Linked DNA regions of Homo sapiens: region 1 is linked to region 2. The links are contacts of gene promoters, found by promoter capture Hi-C in blood cells and fetal thymus (Javierre and others, 2016). All regions are on one chromosome and are shown on one strand. Each heading gives the region's core, a stretch centred on a gene start or on the middle of the fragment in contact. The rest is flanking DNA. Distances are from core to core; before and after follow the strand shown. Region 1 overlaps DYRK1A (dual specificity tyrosine phosphorylation regulated kinase 1A). Region 2 holds the start of PIGP (phosphatidylinositol glycan anchor biosynthesis class P).

Region 1 (5,679 bases), core at 2,876-5,375, 400 kb after region 2:
AAAGTTACAGAAACATGCTCATGGTAAAAATGATCCATACAGTTCAGAAGCACGTAAAGACAGAACTCCACATGCATGATTTTCTCCAACATGCTTTCCATACTGTTTGACAGCAGTTGAAAATACTTTGGAACTGCACTCCAAATGATGATTTTAGATAGCTTTGAATTATTTGTTAAGTTCATCATTAAATTATAACATTATCTGATGTTAAAACATGTATTGTGATACATTCTTAAGCTAAGATATTATTATACTGAGTTGAATAAAGATTATATAATACGGTAGATAGTAGGTTGAACCATATGAAATTACTGTTTTTGTAAGCCAAGGGTAGTCAGAAATCTATCAGCAGTTTCATATGGTTCCGCATAATACTTTATATGATCATCCCTGTTACAGGATGAACTGAGTCATTTTTTCCATTAACATTTGCATTAAAATTTTAGGAAGATAGAAACTTAAGAGTAAAAACATGGGTAATTTGCTTAATTATGAAATCAGGTTAACTAGAAATACGCATATTAGTTTTGTCCCCTTGGAATCTTATCATAGGAAAGGAATGAATGAATGGATAACTTAAATACTTTTTGGTGTTGCAGGAGGAAATTAAACTTAGGTTTATTCTGAATTTCATACACAGCAGTCGAGTTAAGAAAGGAGACAATGAGCATGTGGCAAGCACACCTCGTTTATATACCATGTTTACCAGCAGTCCTCCTGTACTGGTGGCTTAATCTTTCTTCACTTTCACTAAATAACTGATAATGTCACTAACTAGTTATGATAGGTGTTATAATACATAGCTAAAAAGGTACCAGAAGTGAAAAAGTTTTTTCTTGCCAATTCACATTCAGATCATCCACAGCAAATTCCAAAAAGAACATCAGATTCTTTGTCACCTAGCATATCACCGTTATGCATGGGAATGTGTATTATTCTCCCTAAAAAAAGTTTCAACTTTATAACTAGAAAAGTAAATCTATTGGGGAAAAAAAACCCTCTAGTGTATTGTTTAGATAGACTATAACTTATTTTTGGATTATCCACTACTTGAATTAGTTGGAGAACAGCTTTCTTTTATTAAGGTGACCAATGCTTTTCAAAATAGTATTGGCATCATCTGATGACTTGTTAGAAATGTTGACCCTTGGCCAGGCATGGTGGCTCATGCCTGTAATCCTAGCACTTTGGGAGGCCAAAGTGAGTGGATCACCTGAGGTCAGGAGTTCAAGACCAGCCTGGCCAACATGGTGAAACTCTGTCTCTACTAAAAATACAAAAATTAGCTATGGGTGGTGGCGGGTGCCTGTAATCCCAGCTAGTTGGGAGGCTGAGGCAGGAGAATTGCTTGACCCTAGGAGACAAAGGTGGCAGTGAGCCAAGAGTGCACCACTGCCCTCCAGCCTGGGTAACAGCGCAAGACTCTGTCTCAGAAAAAAAAAAGGAAATGTTGACTTTCAAGCTCTACTGAATCAGAACCGTCATTTTTAAAAAGATTGAAAAACAATTTGCAGGCACATTAAAGTCCAAGAAGTGCTGTTACAGATTATGAATGGCATTGTCACCTCCGCAAGACAGTGCTGATGCAGCCCCTCAGTAAGTGCTTGTTGAATTTAATGCATATAATTCACTCAATCTAGATTCAAAAAATGAAACAAGTATTTCAGGAGGGTAGTGATAACAGCAGTAATCAAGGGAACTACCTGTTTCTTTGTAATTCTTTCATAGCTATCTGGATGTCACAGAATTACCCATCTTTCCTTCCAGATGCATCTTTCAGTCTGATTCTATCCATGCTGGATGGTCATTTGGATGTCTTGTGAATACAGTAGATATACACACATATGTGTATGGATGAGAGAGCAACAGAATTAAAACAGAAATCAACATAGTGGATGAGTTTAGGGAGTAATTAGATTTTGATTAGTCAAGGATGCATAATCTTTTGTAATATTGTAATATATAAGGTAACTAAAAAATAAAAATATGGGGAGATGATATAAAAAATTCCAGCAAAAGATAAGAAAGGAAAAGGAACATAAAACAGTTGGAACAAATAGATTGTTAGTGTTCATTTATAGATACAGCTCAACCACATACTCTTTACAAGAGATAAACCTAAAATACAAGGAAACAGAAGAAGGTAAAGGTAAAAAGATGGACAAAAGACATACCATACAAAAATTGATGCAGAGAAGGCTTGGTGTAGTCAGACTGATAACAGATAAAGCAAAAAGCTTTACTAGAAATAAAGAGGGCAGTTTATGATGATAAAAGGTATTATTCATCAGGAAGGCATAACAACCCTGAATTTGTATTATCCAGTATAACACTTTAAGTAGGAGATTTTTAATACATTGTTGTTGGTAACTGATAGAACAAGATGAGACCAAAATTTAAAAAAAAATACCTATATAAGACAGCATACTTAATAAAATTAAACCTTTGATGAGGCGGACCATGAAGAAAGAGAAGACCTCATTAACCAATGTTGAGGTGAAGAGGATATCACAAAAGCTTATGAGAAGATATTATAAAAACTTGATGTCAGTCCATTTGAAATTTAGATGAAGTTATACTATTAGAAAACTACAACTTAACAGACACAGCAGAAAATAGAAAATCTGAATAGTCCTATTAAACATGATCCTTAGTGGAAAGAGCTACCCACTAGTTTTGAAGTCTTTGGGATTTACAAAAGAAAAAAAAAAAAAAACAAAACAAAAAAACGGAAACTATCCACAAGCAAAACTCCTGGTCCAGAAGGTTTCACCAGTGAATCTACCACACACGCATAAAATCATGACCAAATCGCATTCCAGAAATGGAAAATCTTTTTTTGTTTGTTTTCACAGGATCTTGCCCTGGGCTAGAGTGCAAGTGGTGCAATCATGGCTCACTGCACCCTCCTCCTCCTGGGCCCAGGTGATCCTCTAACCTCAGCCTCCTGAGTAACTGGGACCATAGGCATGTGCCACCACACCCTACTAATGTTTTAATTTTTTTGTAGAGATGGGGTCTCACTATGTTGTCTAGGCTGGTCTCAAACTCCTGGGCTCAAGTGATTTTCCCACCTTGGCCTCCAGATTGCTGGGATTACTGGTGGGAACCACCATGCTTGGCTCAAGGAAAGTCGTTTATCATTTCAAAAATCAATCAGCGTCATTCACCACATCAACAGAGTAAATCAGAAAGGTCATCTCATTTCAGTAGATACAGAAAGAGCATTTAATAAAAGTCAGCATCTATTCATGAGGAAAAGGTCTTAGAAAACTAGCAGTAGAAGGAAACTTTGTTAATCTGGGAATAGTATCTGTTAAAAACCTGCAGCAACCATAATACTGGAGAAATGTTGAAAGCTTTCTTTCTAAGAAAGCTGTATTTCCAAGATTGAGAATATGTGAGAGTAGTGTCTGTTACCTCCTTTTTAAATCATCACTGTACTAAAGGTCCCAGCAAGTAGAATAAGGCAAGGGAAAGAATAAGGATTGGAAAAGAAAAATAAAATTGTTCAGATGCTCACTAGCCACATGTGGCTATTTGCTACATTACTGATACAGGTAAATCCATCATTGCGGAAAATTCTGTTGGGCACCACCATTCTATAGAGATCAATGCAATTTCAATTTCAACATCCCAACATGGATTTGTTTTGGTGGATTTGATGAGGTGAATCAGGAACTTACATGGAATAGCCAAACTTACTTACTTTTTTTTTCTTTTAGAGGTAAGGTCTCTGTTACCCAGGCTGGAGCACATACAGTGGCACAATCATAACTCACTGCAGCCTTGAAATCTTGGGCTCAGGCAGTCCTCCCACCCGAGCCTCCTGAGTAATTGGAACTACAGGTGTGCGTCACCATGCCTGGCTTTTTTTTTTTCTTACAGAGATGAGGTGGTGGTGTGTTTCCCAGGCTGGTCTCAGACTCTCGGGCTCAAGTGATTCCCGCCTTGGCCTCCCAAAGCCCTGCAATTACAGGCATGAGCCCCTGCGCCTGGCCTGCCAAAACATTCTTGAAGAAGAACAGAATTTCCTGTTGGATCTTAAAATTTTTAAAGCTATTGTAATTTAGGTAGTGTCCAGTTCTTGAACAGAGACCTAGGTAGGTAAGTCTGTATCCAGTAGAACAGAATAGGCAGTCCAAAACTAGATCCAAGCATAAAGGGAAATGTGATTTATGATAAGGATGGGGTTACAGAGCAGTGGAGAATGTTTGTCTTTTAAATAATTGGTTAAGGATCAATTGGATGTTAATTTGGAGGGGGAAATGAAACTTGATTCCTATTTTACACAGAAGTCAAATGCAAATGGATTTTGCATTTAGATGTGAGAGAGAAAGCCCAGTGTTTAGAAGGTAATAGATTTTTTTCATGACTTTGATATAAGGAAAAATTTCTTAGATTCCAAAAGTATAGTACTAATTGTAAAGCAAAAGTTGATAAAATTAAGAACTTTTATTCATCAAAGTATACCATTAAGAGGGTGACAAGGCAAGCTGCCTGTAACCAATAGGGGCTCGATCATATTCAGAATATGGATTTTTAAAAATCCTAGAAATTTGTAAGAAATGGGCTTACAATTCAGTAGAAAAAATAGAAAAGCAACCTGAATGTACATTTCACGATGTGATGTATAAGTGGCCAATAGACATGCAAAAATGCTCAGAGTAACTAGGAAAATGCAAATTAAAAACCACATTGGAGTACCACAGCACAAATACACTTAGCATAATGGCTGAAATTAGACTGATGATTGCATGCCATAGTGAAGGAGTGGAGCGTGAGAATTTTTCATAAACTGCTAGTGGATAAATTGATTGGAACAAAAAAAGACCAGAAAAACAACAGGACAGCATCTCTGTGTATACCAAACGATGCATAACAAGAAGCTTACAAGTGGCAGTGTTCATAGTAGCCCCAAACTGGAAATAATCCAGGTGTCGGTCAGTAGTAGAATGGATAAATTATCATTTGTCCATATTGTTGTAAAGCAAGGTAATGGACAAACTGCAGTTTATAGGCATAAGATGAAGTAAACAATTCTACTCTATTACATTAGTTTGTACTTGCCCTGCTATAAATAAATACCTGAGACTGGGCAATTTATAAAGAAAGGAGGTTTAGTTGGCTCATGGTTCTTTCTTCAGGCTGTACAGGAAGCATGAAAGCCTCTGGGGAGGCTTCAGGAAGACTTTCAATCATGGCAGAAGGCGTTGGAGAAGCAGGCATGTCTTACATGGCCTGCAAAGTCAGGCAAAAGGGGGAGGTGCCACACAGTTTTAAACAGCCTTTTTTCGTGAGAACTCTTATCACGAGGATAGCACTAGGGGGGATGGTGCTAAACCATTAGAAACCACCCTCCTAATCCAATAACCTCCTACCGGGGCCCTCCTCCAATATTGGGGATTACAGTTCGACATGAGAATTAGGCAGGGACACAGATCCAAACTGTATCACCTGCTTATATGAAAACATCACGCCTGTAATCCCAGCACTTTGGGAGGCTGAGGCGGGTGGATCACGAGGTCAGGAGATCGAGACCATCCTGGCTAACATGGTGAAACCCTGTCTCTACTAAAAATACAAAAAATTAGCCAGCGTGGTGGTGGGCACCTGTAGTCCCAGCTCCTCGGGAGGCTGAGGCAGGAGAATGGCGTGAACCTGGGAGGCGGAGCT
Region 2 (5,770 bases), core at 3,235-5,734:
AACTTAGAGTAGTCCATTCATATTTAAAAATGAAGTGCTAACAAGTGAGTTGGAAGCACTATGTGTATGTGGGCAGGGATGGTCAACTGGTGAGCCTCACTCTGAGAGACTTGGCCACTTCACTGGGGTCCTCTAAATGTCAGAAATTATAGATCCTTTCTCTCGGGCTGGTCAGCTTCCTCAGGAAAGAACTATCTATCTTTTTCTGTGAGCAGTAGGGTGATATAAGCCTCGAAGCCCCAAGAGGGAAGATGGAGCAGGAGGTAAATCTTCTCATTAAGCCATGTAGATTTTCACTTACTTCCCTGTTTTCAGTAAGATGCCGCATTCCCACACTCAGACTTAGTGGCCCCCATGCTAGAGACTCTTACTTAACCTTGCCAGAGAGTAAAACTCCTGTTTTCTGCAGGGGAGGGCAGGGCAGGCCTCCCAGCTTTGAGGGCTGAGGGAGATTTGAAGGCTGAAGACTTCATATGGTCTTTAAACATGTTTTCAGTTCAACCCAGAATTAAAGAGCTACCTGGTACCCCAATGTCTGAGCTATTCTGGAGTTCTAAGGCACAAATATTCTTGCTGGCTTCCCTACTTCAGCAACGTGAAAATCACAGAAACAAAGGCAGTTACCTCTCACCTATCACAATCCACTTTCCAAAATGTGGTTGATATCTCTTTTCTGCTATACTATTGTTTCTGTGGTTTGTATCTTCAGTTTTTTTTTTTTTTCCTGTAGGGTCATTTTAACAAGATTTTTGGAGGAAATGGATGGAGATAAACATGTGTGTTCATGCTACCATCTTTAATTAGAGATGTATCAATAGCGATCTTTAAAAAGCTTTCAATTTCTATATGGCTATTCATGAATTTTAAGAGAACAAATATTTAAGATTTGGGTAGGTTTAAGAAATGATATGACTCCTCAAAACAGCATTAATTATATCCTCATTTAAGAAATATATTAAACTTACTTTTGAGGCCAATAGGTTAAACCTAAAGAGTTTAGCCAAGATTCAGGAATAAAGGCCCACACGAGGTAAAGTACTGTAGAAAAGAAAAAGAAAAAAAAGAGGAAGAGAAGTCAGTAAGACATACATCTAATCTATCAATCTATTAAGATTCAGATAAAACAGAAAAGCTCTTTTGAAGTGTCCCTGATTAACTCAGAAATGATTTTTTCCTCCTTTCAGTTCTTCTAGCTCGTTTGCACAATTCTTATAATACTTATAATTACTGTATTAGTCTTTTTTTTTAATATCTTAACTCACATTATATTTTAAGCAATTCAAGGATACAAATCATGGCTTAGCAATTGTTGTAATCCTTATTACCTAGCAGTTTGCTTTAGGTACAGTAAGTGTTCAATACTTCATCCCCACAAGGTTGAAGTAATTATAGACATTTAATTGCTCAAAGGGAAATTTACCTACCCTAGTTCTCATCCACCACATACTGAGCTTCTGCCCTATCTCCCAGAGTACAATGTTATTTCCCTCAATCCGAAATCTCGGCACTCTTTACTGTTATCCCACGATAACAACAATGGCTAAGTTCTGAGCACTCACTGTGGGTTAAGCACAGTTCCAAGCATTCTGTATGCATTAAGATAATCCTCCAAGACAATCCTCCAAGGCAAGTATGCAATTTTAAATGATGAGGAAATGGAAGCTTAGAAAGGATACATCACCTACCCAAGGTAAGCGGCAAAGATAAATTTTAACTACCTACTACATCAGTGATGATGCATTCTTTTCTTAACAAATATGTATTACAGAATTCTGTATGTCAGGTGTGTGAGACACAATATTGAATCCAAAAGAGATGGCTTCTGCCCTCCCTAAACTTAAAATCTAGTGGTGAATAGAGAAAATTGGTATTTTCACTACATTGTTACAAGTGCTCACGAATGAGTAATAAAAGATGACATAGAAGCACATTAGAAGGCCCTCCTTCCACTTCGTATCCTCCTTCCCTTTGCTTAATTTCTCCCCATAGTACGTTATCACCTGATACTATATACGTTTTTCTTATTTAACTTGCCCATTGACTATCTCCCCCCGGCATGAGAATGAAGACTCAAAGCAGGGCATTTTTGGCTGTTTTGGTCCTTCCTGGCCTGTAACAGTGCCTGGCACATGGTAAGCACCAATAAATACTTGAATTACTTTTTGGTTGTGGGTATGATGGAATTTAATTTTGTTTTGAGACAGTTTCGCTCGTTGCCCAGGCTGGAGTGCAAAAGTGCAATCTCAGCTCACGGCAACCTCCGCCTCCCGGGTTCAAGCGATTCTCCTGCCTCAGCCTCCCGAGTAGCTGGAGTTACAGGCATGCGCCACCATCCCGGCTAATTTTGTATTTTTAGTAGAGACAGGGTTTTTCCATGTTGGTCTGGCTGGTCTCAAACTCCCGACCTCAGATGATCTGCCTGCCTCGGCCACCCAAAGTGCCGGGATTACAGGCGTGAGCCACCAGGCCGGCCAGAATTTAAGCCTTAAAGTGATTGCTTTTATTTATTCATATAGCTTCTAATCCTTGACATACTCTTTGAACAAGGATTTACAAAAGTGCTAACAATAACATCAGTAGCTAACACTTATTAAGTCCCTAACTGTTCCTAGGCATTATTTTACGTGCTTTACATAAATTACCCCCGTTAATCCTCACAACAGTCAGAAGAGGCAGCAGAGTGAAGTCAGCCAGTGTATTTGGGTTCAAATTTAGAAGGCTTTTATTTAGTAGCTTTGCAATCTTGAGCAAGTTACTGAAACCACAGGATGCTCATCTTTAAAGGACAGTAATAACAGAACCTACCCCATAGAACTGTTTCATGCGTCATAAGCATTTAATAACCATCATTATCACTACCCTTTTACAGATAAGGAACCTGAGGCTCAAAAAATTTGCTGAGGGTCCCAGCTCACATGGCTAATCTGTGGAGGAGTCAGAATTCGAACTCAGTTGTAACTTCTTCACTTCACTTCAGTTTTAATAGCCTGGCCATTACATTCATCTGCAAGCTGTGCTGATGGTGCAGGCTGATATATTTTAGTTAGGGTTCAGAAGTACTACCACTCCTCCACTTTCCTGGTTTCCAAACAGTTGCAGAACGTTGGATCACGGGCACTCAATTTTCTCCCTTTTGTGTGCCTCAAAATTCTCAAATCATTTTGGGGAGAGACTTGGGACTTGCTGTGTGAGTGGGCATATTAGTGTCTTAGTGAGCATCAGTCTCCTTATCTGTAAAATGGAATGTTATGGGGTTAAATTAAGGGAGATCCAGGACGCAAACGACACACCTTTCAACCCGACTTCTCTGGCCTACTTCTCCTGTTCCCCAGATCCCGCAGGGCACACTGGTGACATCACAAGCTCCTCGGGTCCAAACCCTCTCACGCCCTCATTCAAGGCCTTTCCACTTCTTCCCTCCCTCTTACTCTTTCCTAATCAGCATCAGTGCCAGGGGGAAAGGCCTCTGTAGAAAGCCTTGACTTTCCAGTCTGGTTTCAATGTCTCTCCACCGTGCTCCCTGACACTCATCACACTGAGCATTAACTGTAGATTTACCCATCTGTCTCCTCCACAAGACCACGACCTCCTTAAGGGCAGGGACCAGGCTTTATCCACTTTGCCATCGCGTCTGGTGCTGTATAAATATTTGTAGAGACTAAAACCTCCTAGGCTAGTGCTGGCACACGGAACACTCAGCAAACACGAGATCCCTTCAGATTTTCTTAAAAAGAGACATAGGGAGAAAGAATCAACAGTTCATGTGTGCACAGTCTAACCAATGTATTCTTCCCTTGTCACTGAACGCCAGAAAAAGCCCCTGGCCATCCATCAGGAAAGTACTTACTGAAGCCAAATTGGGAGCTTAAGAAAAGAACAAAGCCATAAATCGCTCTTTCTGGCAATGGCGACGGTGAATTTTCCACCATTTTTCCTGGGGCTTTAGACAATCTGTGGAAAAGGAACACAATCAGCGTCAGCGATGTGCTCCGTGGCACCATTGATCCATTCTCGCCTCCTCGCTCCGCCGCGGGTACGGCCCCCGCCGCGCAGAACCGCCTCCCGCGCCTCCGTCCGCAACCCGCGCCCCCGCCTCGAGCGCATACAGACACCCAGGCTGGCGCGCGCCCCGCAACAGAAGGGGTGGCGGAGGATAGGGCAGGGAGGGGGGTTCTGGGGCGATAGACGCGCGCTCCAGCTCTGCAAGCGTGGCCTCCCTGTGGGAGGGGAGGGCAGGGAACAAGGCTCGCGCGGCGCCCACCAGCATGCGGGCCTACTAGGTCGCGGCGCCCAGGCCCCGGGCCCTGCCCATTCGTGGAGACTTCTATTTCTCATTCGAGGCGGGGTATGGGGGGGCCCTCGACCTCGGGTCCTTCATACGCCCACCCAGGCCCCTCCCGACACCTCGGCCACCTCAGCGCTGAGTTCTCCGCGCAAGCGCCGACTGGGGAGCCGCAGTGGGGAAGAGGAAAACCTGAGGGAAAGGCCTAGGCGCGACGGCAACCCCCACCCTGGCGCAGGCGCACAACGACCCTCCCCGGGTGGGAGCCAGCGAGCGCGGGGGCGGGCGTGATCCCGCGGCTCGCGACGGCGAAGGAGGGGGCGGTGGGGTGCGACTGCGCACGCGCGCTGCCAGCCCACGTGACGCACCTCGCTTCAACGCCGCCACCCGCTCCCTCCCGCCGTCGGCTGACGTGGAGGGCCGGAGGTGGCGGCGGCGGCGGCGGCGGCTGCTGCTGCTGCTGCCCGCGTCCGAGGCTCGCGGGCGGCGGGCCCGGGTGAGTGCACACCCGGCGCGCTGCCGGGCTCCCGGATGTGTCACCTTGTCCCGCTGCAGCCGAGATGCCGGGGGAGCGGGGCCTTCCACACCCCCTCCGTGGGTGTGTGGTGAGTGTGGGTGTGTGCGCGTCTCCTCGCGTCCCTCGCTGAGGTGCCTACTGTGTCTGCATGGGTTGGGTCCCGCGCGATGAGGGGGTGTGGCCGCCATTGCCTACCCCAGTGGGTTTGCCCCCTTGGTCTGGTGCCCCTTCGCGAGCGAGGCCCTGGGATGCCGGTGCGAGGGTGTGAGTAGTCCCTTTGTGCGCAACCCCCCGCTGCCCGTGCCTCGGCCGGTGCGTGGCTGACACCTCCGCTGGGTGGAGGCGCTCGCGTGTCGCCTCGTCGCCCCTTTTGTGTCGGTGTCCGCGCTCCCTGGCGGCTGCGTGGGCGCTCTCGGCCTTGCAGGTGGCCCCCCTTTGTGTTACTGCCCCTGTCTGTGGGCTGCGCGTCCCCTAGCGCGCGTGGCCGCGCCTTCTGCAATTGCGACCCCCGCCTAGAGCCTTGCTCGCGCAAGTGTGCGTCCTTGCGTGTCTCCGAGTGACGCAGAGTGTCTGCGCATGGGTCCTGTTGAGTGCGTGATCTCTTGTGTGCGGATTTAATTCTGTCGAGTGGGTATCTCTTGTGTGCAGGTTTCGTTGGTGAGCGTGAACGTTCGTGCACACCCCTTGCTGTGTGTGCGTGTCACGACTCTGTTGCCACCTGTTTTCGTGTGAACTGGCAGTCCAGTCCAGGGCCTGTCCCCACGGAACGGACCCAGGAGGGGGGTAACCTCGCCGCTCCCCTCGCCCCCGCGCCTCTTTCTGAGCATTCTCTCCCACAGACGCTAATGGGAAGGGGGGTGGACAGGATCGAGTCTGGCCAGCTGCTCCGCAGTGTTGACGCTGCCAGTGTGGCCTCTTCAGCCAGCCTGTTCAGGAGACAGAATAGGGGGATCAAAGATAAAAAATGAAGC

What was found. Contacts are between HindIII fragments. The CHiCAGO score rates a contact against its expected background, and 5 or more counts as called.
Region 1: a contact is called between a fragment that was not itself captured here and the fragment with the promoter of PIGP in region 2, in 2 of 17 cell types (total B cells and naive B cells). The highest score is 6.4, in total B cells.

Annotation. Positions count from the first base shown.
Region 1 is chr21:37,464,403-37,470,081 of GRCh38, forward strand. All of the region lies in intron 2 of DYRK1A (dual specificity tyrosine phosphorylation regulated kinase 1A), which reads left to right. Among named protein-coding and RNA genes, the nearest start is that of KCNJ6-AS1, 51 kb to the right of the region's middle. The HindIII fragment of the contact is 1,530 bases long and covers 3,361-4,890 here.
Region 2 is chr21:37,068,587-37,074,356 of GRCh38, forward strand. PIGP (phosphatidylinositol glycan anchor biosynthesis class P) reads right to left here and starts at 4,485. Exons shown (of 5, transcript NM_153682.3): 1 at 4,414-4,485; 2 at 3,848-3,951; 3 at 966-1,038. The coding sequence starts at 3,929. It overlaps TTC3 (tetratricopeptide repeat domain 3), which reads left to right and starts at 4,668. Exons shown (of 46, transcript NM_001330683.2): 1 at 4,668-4,887. RefSeq lists silencers at 3,956-4,235, 4,476-4,795, 5,016-5,075 and an enhancer at 4,383-4,677. The HindIII fragment of the contact is 9,103 bases long and covers 1,661-5,770 here.